3 separate regions of the Homo sapiens genome follow, and all the other regions are linked to region 2. Evidence: promoter capture Hi-C in 16 types of primary human blood cells and fetal thymus (Javierre and others, 2016). All regions are on one chromosome and are shown on one strand. Each heading gives the region's core, a stretch centred on a gene start or on the middle of the fragment in contact. The rest is flanking DNA. Distances are from core to core; before and after follow the strand shown.

Region 1 (3,743 bases), core at 1,151-3,650, 57 kb after region 2:
TCCTTATCCATTCATCTGTTACTGAACACTTAGGTGGATTCCATTTCTTGGCTATTGTGCAAAGTGCTGTGATAAACAGGGGAGTGCAAATATCTTTTTGATATACTAATTTCGTCTCTTTTGGGTATACACCCTGTAGTGGGTTTGCAAGATCATATATTACTTCTATTTCTAACTTTTGAGGAAACTTCATACTGGTTTCCGCAATGGCTGTACAGGTGGTATTAGGTTTTCTGTTTCTGATTTTGTTGGCTTAGCATAATGGCCTCCAGTTTGATCCACTTTGCTACAAAAGACATGATCTAATTTTTTTATAGCTGTGTAGAATTCATGGCGTATATTTATCACATTTTTAAAATCCACTCTACTATTGATGGGCTTTTGGGTTGATTCTATGCCTTTGCTATAGTGAACACGGCTGCGATAAATATACACATGCATGTGTCTTTATGGTAGAATGATTTATATTCCTTTGGGTATATACCCAATAGTGAGACTGCTGGGTCAAATAATAGTTCTGTTTTAATGATGATGTACTGCTGCTAATAGACTACTATCAAATGAGTAGTAATGATATGTCAGAAATTGTGTCAACTGAATTCCTGATATTAATTCCATTTTATGCCTAAGATAAGTTAGTGATATAAATATTATTTTCCACATTTTAAAATGAAGAGATTAAAATTCTGATTGATTTGTTCTTCAAATCAATCAAACACTAATTAAGGAAAATAAAAGGGGTTTAAAATGATATAAAAATAATCATTGTTATGGCCCAAAATTCAGATAACAATAATTGTGAAATCCTGGTCCTGGGGATCAGAGAAAGGTAGAACAAAATCCAAATAATCATATAATATTACTAATAAAGCAGATTCTAAAAGAAACAAAAGATCCATTCACAAATATATATGCATAGATACTTTATTCAGGGAGTGAAAGATAAATGACAATTGCAAAGGTGGTAGAAGCTCATGACCAGGTGACAGACAGACACAGAACACATCAACAGAATTGTCTGATGGTTCCCAGGGAGAGAGCTGCTGCTCTTTCTTCCGAAGCTCTGGGAGCTGGCACAGCTGAGGACTTCCTTTTCTTAGCTCCACCTGGACAGTGGCAGTATGGCAGCCTCAGAAAGGGAATCTTTTGCTGTCACAGATCATCACAGGCAGGCCACAGGTTAAGGAGAAAGAAGCTCCCTGTGCATCCATGGAAGGCTTTGGTGAGAAGATGCAAGTGGAGCTGTGGAACGAGGTGAGCCAATTATCCTTATCCTCTCATGCTCCTGATGAATCCTGAAGCTGTTACTTGCTCTTGGGTGGACACTTTGGCTGGCAGGGTGGGGAAGGTGTCACAGGAGGATATTTCTGCTGGCACTGCTGAGGTGGGCAGGGCTGTGGACACTTTGGTGATGGGCAGGGCTCAGGGCACTTCGGGGGTGGACATGGCTCTGGGCACTTTGGCGTGGGGCACACAGGAGGTGGCTGGCAGGGCTGCTTGCACTGCTGCTGTTGATAAGACATCCTGCTGGAGTCTCAGGATCTGAAAGAAATGATACAACAGTGTTTGTGGGAAGGGACTCCTCCAGAGAGAGAAGCTAATGCTTATGTAATACCATGAAATATTATTTCCCCATCTCCAAGAAATTATTTAAACTCTTAACTGCCTTTTCAAGACTACTTCGTTTCTCCCTTCCACTTTAGCAAATTGCTTCATTGGCCCTGGGAAATCTTGTGTTTTCTCATACAATTTTTCCAAAGAAAATATCTCTGTAGTAATGAACCAAGCATGTTATTTCTGTGAAAATAACATCTTTAGGAAAGGCAGTGACAAGTTCAGATACCATGAGCAATCTCACAAGCCATTTCTCTTATCATTATCTGTAGTAAAGTCCCAGTGGGTTGACTTGAGCACAGAACAAAGGGCTGTTTGGGAAGGATTGCAGGCTCTTGGCACCTGTTAAGACACAAACCTTTGAAAAAGACACCAGGAAAACATGGGGAAAAAATACTTTGTTCTTTTTTCTTCTTCAATTCAAAGCTTTCCTATTAACTTCTCTGTCCGTATGGACACCTAACTGTATACAAGAAACAAGCTAAAATAGCATATCACTGTACTCTAAATCTAAATTTCCATCTACTAAGTAGAATCAAACCCATGGTTACAGAATTGTATCAACCAAACTTGCTGTTTTCAGATTAAATTCAATATTTCAGGTCACAAAGAACTGAGGAACTCAAGGACTCACACTCACCAGGTTCTCCAAAGCAGATCGGTGCTAGAGTACCAGGAGTTTAAGAGTTGTGCAGCAGGGAACCTCTTTATAGGACGTTCTGCCCCACCCAGTGGGAAGTGGAACTGCCTAAAACTGGGCTGGTCCAGCAATGTCCAAAGTAAAATGCAAATGTATCCATATCTGGCATGAGAGGCATTCTCAAACTAGGAAATATCCTGTTCTGGGATCTCCCCACTGGGTTAAGTGCTCATGAGTCACAGAGAACCTGCCTTAGATCTCAGTTTCAGTGACTTTCGTCAGAGAGATAATTGGAGGGATTCTCTAACCGGTTGTCAAGGGCTCTCTTTCTTGATTGGGAACAATGATCCCTTCCTATCTTACCTCCCCTGAGTCATAAAACTTCCTGTCCTGATCCACTCTAGCTGAATGCCATATTGTTGTACATGAACCCAACTCTACCTCTACTTTCCTCATACAGTTGGCCAATGTGCTAGAAGGAAGGAGAGACTTAACAAAGGCCTGAGCTAAGCTTTTTCTTTGCTAAGTTCCATGACAACAGGCATGTCACCTCTCCTCCCTGGGATTATAAACAGGGGACAATAATACTTACCTCTGGGTTTGCAGGCTGACCACATTGTGCTATCTGCTGACCCTGTTCAAGACTGAAATTTTCTTTGCCACCTTTTTCTCAGATAAAACCTCAGATTTTTACCTATATTCCTTTCCTCTTTGAAGCTGTCTTCTGCACCACATTTGTAGCTTCTGCACCACATTCGTAGAGGCACTTGCATCCCAGGACAGATTTGAGAGTGAGATCTAGTCTCCACAGCACGTTTGCTACTTGGTGCCATCAAGGATGTGTACTACAGCCTTTTTATTTATAAAAAGTAATGGAGAGAAGGAAACTAAAGTTACAAGTATTGACTCAAAATCTATGTATGGAACCATGCATATATGGTTCCCTGTGAACATCCTATAGAGAACAAGCTGCATAGACATTATCATATGTAAATAATTAGAAGTAGGTGTGCAGAGTGAGGAAGGTAAGAGCACTTAAAGTTTAACTCAAGGGGAAAATACAAACAAAGGGTAATCCAATATGTATTCTTCCTCTCTATTTCCAAACAGGTTTTAGATGTTTCTCAGTGTTTTTTAATTTGTTTGCATGTTCTTCCTTTGTCTTTTCCATAAACCTTCTAGTCCCACAAACTGCTAGATTATCAACTCATACCCAATGTATACCTGTCATCTGTCCATTTTGGTACATATTGTTCACTTAACACATATGTTGTCAATGCATTTAGTGATTGTCCTTTCACAACTTTTTTAAATGCTTCCTACAATCAGTGAGCCTTTCTAAGTACTGTATATTAAACATTTAAAGTGATGTTGCTACTGCTTCCTTATCTGGACCATTAATCGGGAAGCTTCCCAAGAACATGGTTTTATAAGTGAATAAGAAGAAAGGAGAATGAGGAAGAGGAAAGACTCAAAATCACTGGAGCAG
Region 2 (3,352 bases), core at 853-3,352:
AGGTGCTCCACAAACATTTAGGTGTGTGTTTGGGTAAAGGAGGGGTTAGATGAGGAGGAGGAACCATCTGAACACCTGAGTTTTAAGGATGATTTGGATTTTCCAAAGGCCACACCTAGTAACAGTTTGTGTTTTGAGTGCAGCTCTGAATCAGAGACCTCAGTTTTATGGCAATTGCCTATGGAAAGATTGAGGGAACCCCTGTTCTTGTGTCCCCAGGAAAGAGAAGTTCCTTGGCAGGGCAGAATCTGACCATCGTGGAGTGAAGGCAAGCATGTGCAGGTGCTCAGGGGCTTATCACCTACTGCCTCCCCCAGTGCCTTCACCTCAGCTGTGTCACGATGTCACTCTGAGAGCTCCCCTAGAGCGAAAGCAACTCAGGATAGAAGCAGACATTTTAGTTTTGGCTTTTCCCTTCCTTTCTCCGACCCTGGTGCCCTGAGTAATGATAAACTGAACCTTATTTCCACCTATTCTAATTCATGCCCTTCTTACTTTAGCAGAGCTAGAAACACCCACTGTTTAGAGCCACTCAAATATTAAGCATCTTTATTTCTACTTAAAGGGATTTATCTTAGCACCGATTAAGGCTTACCCACAAGGCAAGGCTCTTTCTGTGTCCTCACGCTGTCACTCCTAAAACTTTCCAGAACTACAAGTGACCCAGCTCTCAGTCAGGAAGGGCTCCCCTTTCCACCTCTAATCAATTTTCTGCCTGGGCTTAATTTCCTCCATAGACATTAGGGAGTCACAAGGAATTAAAACAAAGGAGAACACAGGATTTCTGTGTAAAATTCTTTTCTTCCTAGGGTTTGTTTTTTTGACCTTGGTGAGTTATTTCACCTCTGGTGGCCTCAGATTCCCCAATCATCCCTTGAGGAGTGTGAACTAAAGGCTCTCTGAGATCCATAATCTCAGTGGCTCTCAACTGTGCTCTGTCTCTTACCCTGGGGAGTTCATGATCTGTAGAGGAAAAGTGGGCTTCCTCATCAGAGAGCTCCTAGAATGACAGGCATGATGGGCATATGTTAGGCTCCCCACTGAGATTTGTTGAATAAATGAGGAAATAAACACTGTGGTGGGGACACCGTTGCTTTAAGCAGGAACAGCTCTGACCCTCGGAAAGCCCCCAGGAGATACAGACCCAGAAGGAGGAGGAAAACCTTGCAGCCAGCAGGATCTCTAGGTATTGGGGCTGGAGCTGGCAGTGGGCAAAAGTGGAGAAGGATTCAGCATTGAGGACCCCATGGATGGGCTGCAGGGAGGCAGGTAGAAAAGGCTTTTGGGTTTTCAGGTGGGGGGCAGTCTAGCCTGATCAGAAAGGAGGAAAAGGCCAGGGCCAGATGTCTGGGTGGAGTGAAGGGAAAAAGTGATCCCAGAAGAAGGATTAGCCCCTGAAAGTCCCTGAAGTAGGAGAAGGGTAAAGGTGTGGTTGGTGAAGGAAAGCAGGTTTTCCCAGATTAGCAACCAGTCAGGGGGAGGAAGGTGAGAGTGGGAGAGTCATAAGTAAATTATTCTGAATGTGTGTAGTTTAATGGAATTGGGAAAAAGATGGGGGAAATGGATGGAAGGGTCTTGGACTCTGAGACAAGGGGTCTATAATCAGTCCATTTCATTATTTCTAGCTTCCACCTTCACCAAGGCAGACAAGGAGGGCCCACCTCAGCTCCTCTGCTCCCCCTCCCTTTCCCACCTATTCATGTGTGCAAGAGTGCCCTGTCCCACAGAACACGGGGAACAACCATCTCAATGACAAGGACAGCAGGTGGCAAGGCCTCAACAGGACTCAGATGTCCCCCCAGGGTTAACTCATGAAACCCTCCATGAAGCCTGCTGCTCACCCCTCCCTCAAGGCAAGCCCTGCACCTGGGTCTGAGGATGAGGGTGGCAGTGAAAATTAGGCCAGTGACATCATTTTCAGCCAGCCAGTGCCAAAAAATATCAGGTGGTGTTCATCAAAAAAGCTGAGCCAACCGGTGATGAGGATGGTAGTGTGAGTCATGTGTGACAGGTGAGGAATGAAAACAGAGTGCCCGAGAGCTTCTATTTCCTTGAGGCAGGGCTCATTCATCTTATAAAAGCCAGCTGGCCATTGCCTTCACACCAAACCCAAGGGACCACACAGCCCATTCTGCTCCGTATACCAGGTAAGTCTCTGATTGCAACAAACTGGCAATTCTAGTGTACTTTTTCATTATTAGAAATTAGCTAAAGGCAAATATGTGTAAGCAGGTTAATCCAGGGTTTCAATGGGAGATAGAGAATAGTGGAATATCTTTATTTTAAGTTAAATTACAGTCTGGATTTGAAAGGACCTTAGAGATGGTTAGGGCTCCCACCTCAGTAGATAGTCATTGAACTGGGAGTCCTGGAGAAGATTGTTCAAATGCCCATGGGAAGTTCATAGCAGAACTAGAACTCAGGCCCAGAGCACTCTCAGTAACACTGCAATTTCCCCCTGACAAGATATTTATAGAAATTTTAATTTATTAGATGGATCTCTACTGAGCATTTATTCCATTTAAGGCAGTATGCTAGGCACTTTGGACAAATCAATGCCTAACGTACTTACTTAACAAACATAAAACCTAGCAGGAAGGTAATACATATATATAAATAAATGAAATGCAAAGTAGATAGTAATTGGCATGACGGAGATGGGCAGAGAAGGGCTGTGCACTTTTGGGAGACCTTGCTCAAGGAGACCCTCCTAGGGGTGTCAAGTGATGTGAGCTATGATGGAGGGGTATTTGGACAAGCAGAGATGGGAAGAAAAGCATTTGGAAGGGACTGTGTAAGCACAGACCAGAAGCAAAACCATAGAGGCTTAGATGAATATAAAGCCATCCTATAAGTCACAGGCTTTCTACATGGTACTAGGAGAGGAAAGTGGTCTGATGCCATTTTCCAAAAGACCTAATATGCGGACCTCATGTCCCTCAGAAGCCAGCTTTAGTAGGGCATTTTTCCAGAACAGATATAAGTTGCCTTGGGTAGGAAGGGAGCCAAGAAGAGAACTCCAATAAAATGGAGCAGAAGAAATTGCCTTTTAGCTCCTCCTCTTCAAAGGGCCTGAAAATTATCCAAGCTTATTTCATTTTTAAATGTAATGGGGGAGTTAAGGGAGATGAAAGGCTTTCTCTTCTAAAGGGTCCTGAAATAAAATCTGTTTGGCATTGAATTTGTATCCATCTTTCTTTAATTGAATCACTGTGTCAGCTTTCTGTCTCTAGAAAAAAACACATTTGAAGCATGAATTCTCAGCAGCAGAAGCAGCCTTGCACCCCACCCCCTCAGCCTCAGCAGCAGCAGGTGAAACAACCTTGCCAGCCTCCACCCCAGGAACCATGCA
Region 3 (3,716 bases), core at 413-2,912, 37 kb before region 2:
GACTCCCCAAGGTCTTGGGATGTTCTAAGGCTTTTATTAAATAGTGGAACCATGGCTAAATTTCATGGCTGAGATTTAAAATGTGCCATCTTCAGGACTAGCTTGCCTATTTCCATTTCTCTCACTCAAAAGTCTTTTTTAATGTATTTTTAGGGGAAAAGTAAAAATTATATATATGTACAGTGTACAATGTGATGTTTTGATATATGAATATATTGTGGGATGACTAAATCAAGCTATTTAATACATGTATTACCTCACATATGTATCATTTTTGTGTGGCGAAAACACTTAAAATCTACTCATTTAGCAATTTTCATGTCACATATTGTTATTAACTATAGTCAACATGACTTCCAGTGGATTCCTTGAACTTATTCCTCCTGTCTCTTTCAACCAAGAGCTTATGACACTGGGTGGCAAGTGCCACTACTTGCCTCCAACTTTTTTCAACTTCCTATTCCATATTTCTAAGAGTGTGTCTTGCCCTAGTATTCAAAGCCCATCTCCATGGAGCACCCAACGACTGTTGACCATGCATTTTGTGCCAAACACTTGCACATACTTTAAATAAGTTGTCCATTTTAATCCTTACAACTGACATGCAGAATGGTGCTGTTACCCTCTTTAGCAGGTGAGAAAATTGAAGTGCAAAAACATCTGGTTCCTAAGGTCACCCAACTGGTAAAAGGCAGAGCCTCAGTCTGAGCACCACTTGGGAATTTTTTAAAGATGAGCTCCATCCTTTGCCAGGTATGGGAAGCATCCAAGTCTGTATCCCGTGCCACCCTTCTTTGTCCTGGAACTTCTAACAGAAGTTAGGAGGAAGAGCCAGGACTGGGGCCCCAGGAGCTCAGAACCCAGAATCCAGTCACTGTGACTCCTCCATGAGCTCACTCTAATGCAATGCTTCTTAGCTTCCCCCACCCCCTCCACCTTATGATAATCATTTCCCTGGGAACCCTGGAGTCATATGGATATGTGATATATGTAGGGAGATTTAGAGATAAGCACTATCTACTGTAACCAACCAGTTTCCCCGAATGGGGCCTAACGATTTTCCCAATAGCAGAACAGACAGAGAGTGGCAGCTGCCATTTCTTGTATAAATAACAATAGGTAAAAAATGAAAGCCTCTTGTCTTGTCTTCCCACCAGTTCAAGCTGAATGTGACTCTGAGCCTAGGTCAAGTCAAAGTCACAACTTTGCTGAGGGTGGTGGGTTTCCAAGAGAGCCATCTGCCCCCTCAGCTGTTTTCTTATGTTACCTGCATAAGCTGCCTGTCCCATCCCCTCCTCTCTGCCAACCAGAACATCCCAGAACACTGCCCTCACACCCCCACACCCAGCATGGTCGGAATGCTTGCTTGGGACCATCCTAGATGCCAGGGATCTAAGTCAAAAGTCATGAGTGGGTTTGGAAATCCAAGGAAGCCAGTCCTCGTAAAATGATGGGGAGATGAGGCAAGGGGAGGGTGAAGGCACTGTCATCTCCAAATCCCGCCATACCAGCCCTGGGGGTGAGTAAAACTTAAAATTTGAGGAAGGACAGGTGGATCCTATTGTGACTAGGGACTAATTAGGACACCCCAATCCTGGGCCACCTCATGGCCTCAGGCAGGGATGAGAGGTATATAAAAGGTAGATAGGCTCAGAGCATCCCAAACCCCTCCACACCTATCTGCTCCAGTCGCTGGTGAACCTTGGTAAGTCTGGAAAGGTAGTACCTCTTATAGCAGCCTTGCCTTGCCTGCATCCCTAACCAACTATGGACTGGGCTGATTCTCTGGGTGGTGGTCAGAAAGGATGGGTCTTTTGGGGTACCTCTTTTTTCCATATCATTTGTGACAAACCTATCTTGGGTCCAGCAAGTTATCCAGCAGAGTAGTGTGGGAGGCTGGGCTGAGCAGGGAGAAGGAGGGGGGTATCTACAAGAGGGTCAGTATCTCAGCGATGCTGCTGGCATGGTGTGGGTGTTGCATCTTGTCAGGTGCTAAGAGGGAATTAGTAGGAGAGGAGAGACCAGTTCTGGGCAGAGCAACTGGAAGGACTGTCCTTTCAAAGAAAAGAGAAGGCAGGAAGGAAAGAGAACAGACTCCCTTGGGACAGCAGAGTTGTGGATGTCCATGGAGCAAAGGGCTGCAGGGACAAGACGATGTGGCACCATGGAAGGCTCTGCTCTGGGAATCAGGAGACCTCTTTTCCCACCATCTATGCCGAGTGGCTTTGAAGCCATTCCTTCCCTCTGAGGTTTGCTTTCCTCAACTGTAATTGAGAGAGGCAAGCTAGATAGTCCATTTCATCTATCTCTAGAGTTTTCTCTTTATAAACTCCTTTAGAGAGTGGTTAAGATGCGCCTTTTAAATTGTTTATGAATTTACTTAACAAATTACAACTCTTATATAGTGTTCATTTTGTGCTACTACTCTGCATGTGTGTGTCGGTACATACATACCTACGTATGCATGCATATTTTAAGTATGTATTTTATATACTCATTTAATTTTTGCACCAACTCTAAGAGAGGTAAGTATGGAAAACCTTAGTTGCTCAAAATCATATAGTTAATAAATGATTTAGCCAGAACTCAGATCCCAGGCAATTTATTCCAGATGCCACAGGTTTTGCTATAATAGGATACAACAGTCTGCTCTTTCATTCTTCCTCTTTTTTTTCCTCTCTCTCCCTTTTCTTTTTTTATGTTTTTCTTTCTTTTCAACCCCTCCTAACATTTCTGTTTTCCCTCCCTTCCTCCTTTCCTATCTTTCCTTCCTTCCATGTTTCTTTGTCTTGAAAAGAGTTGAAATAACTTGTAAACACTTAAAGTTTACACATGCGCGCGCGCACACACACACACACACTCCTCTTAAATCTGTGAAGGGATCAGGGCAAGGTAAAAGCAGAGCAGGACAGGAATGTGGCAGGGGGTTCACCTGGGCTTAGGGTCTCTCTATGGCTCAAGTGTTCCTCATTTCTGTGTCTTTCTGTTTCCAGTTGCAAGTCCAGCCCAGAATGTCTCAGCAGAAGCAGAAGCAGTGTGCTCCCCCGCAGCAGTGCTGCCCCCCACCCCAGCAGCGCTGCCCCCCACCCCAGCAGTGCTGCCCCCCGCCTCAACAGTGCTGCCCCCCACCCCAGCAGTGCTGCCCGCCGCCTCAACAATGCTGCCCCCCTCCCCAGCAGTGCTGTCCCCCACCCCAGCAGTGCTGCCCTCCACCTCAGCAGTACTGCCCCCCACCCCAACAGACCAAGCAGCCTTGCCAGCCCCCACCCAAGTGCCAGGAGCCCTGTGCCCCCAAGTGCCCACCCCCTCAGCAGTGCCAGACGTCCAAGCAGAAGTAAGCCCTGGGCATGTGATCAGAGGCGAACCCCCAGGAAAAACAGAGCATGAAGTTCCTTCTGGGCCAGCATCTTACACTCCACAGGCCAAGCAAAGCCCTGCTCACCAGTGCTTCTGGATGCAGCCACACTTCACACTTGCAGGAGAGGCAGCACCAGGCTGGCAGCTGGCGGCTTCCTCGAGCTCTACTCTTCTTAATTAGCAGCTGCAGTTTCCATCTCAGACAAGGATCTGGTTCTAAACTATCTAATCATCTTTCCTGACATGCATCTACATTGCCCTGCTGGAAACATGAGCGGCATGCACAGGCATCTTCTCCTACCACGCTTCCCCTCAGCTCCTGTTTTCAAACAATTAAAACAGAATTCCTCTGGCATGAA

Evidence for each region. Contacts are between HindIII fragments. The CHiCAGO score rates a contact against its expected background, and 5 or more counts as called.
Region 1: a fragment that was not itself captured here is called in contact with the fragment with the promoter of SPRR1A in region 2 in 1 of 17 cell types (naive CD8 T cells); the score reaches 5.0 in naive CD8 T cells.
Region 3: a contact is called between the fragment with the promoter of SPRR5 here and the fragment with the promoter of SPRR1A in region 2, in 1 of 17 cell types (naive CD8 T cells). The highest score is 5.3, in naive CD8 T cells.

Annotation. Positions count from the first base shown.
Region 1 is chr1:153,038,824-153,042,566 of GRCh38, forward strand. SPRR2D (small proline rich protein 2D) reads right to left here and starts at 2,297. Exons shown (of 2, transcript NM_006945.5): 1 at 2,255-2,297; 2 at 909-1,542. The coding sequence starts at 1,523. The coding sequence ends at 1,305. The HindIII fragment of the contact is 725 bases long and covers 2,039-2,763 here.
Region 2 is chr1:152,981,979-152,985,330 of GRCh38, forward strand. It overlaps SPRR1A (small proline rich protein 1A), which reads left to right and starts at 2,103. Exons shown (of 2, transcript NM_005987.4): 1 at 2,103-2,147; 2 at 3,234-3,352. The coding sequence starts at 3,253. The HindIII fragment of the contact is 3,855 bases long and covers 1-3,086 here.
Region 3 is chr1:152,945,544-152,949,259 of GRCh38, forward strand. SPRR5 (small proline rich protein 5) reads left to right here and starts at 1,663. Exons shown (of 2, transcript NM_001395435.1): 1 at 1,663-1,705; 2 at 2,994-3,712. The coding sequence starts at 3,012. The coding sequence ends at 3,338. LINC01527 (long intergenic non-protein coding RNA 1527) reads right to left here and starts at 3,667. Exons shown (of 2, transcript NR_183723.1): 1 at 3,443-3,667. The HindIII fragment of the contact is 11,414 bases long and covers 1-3,716 here.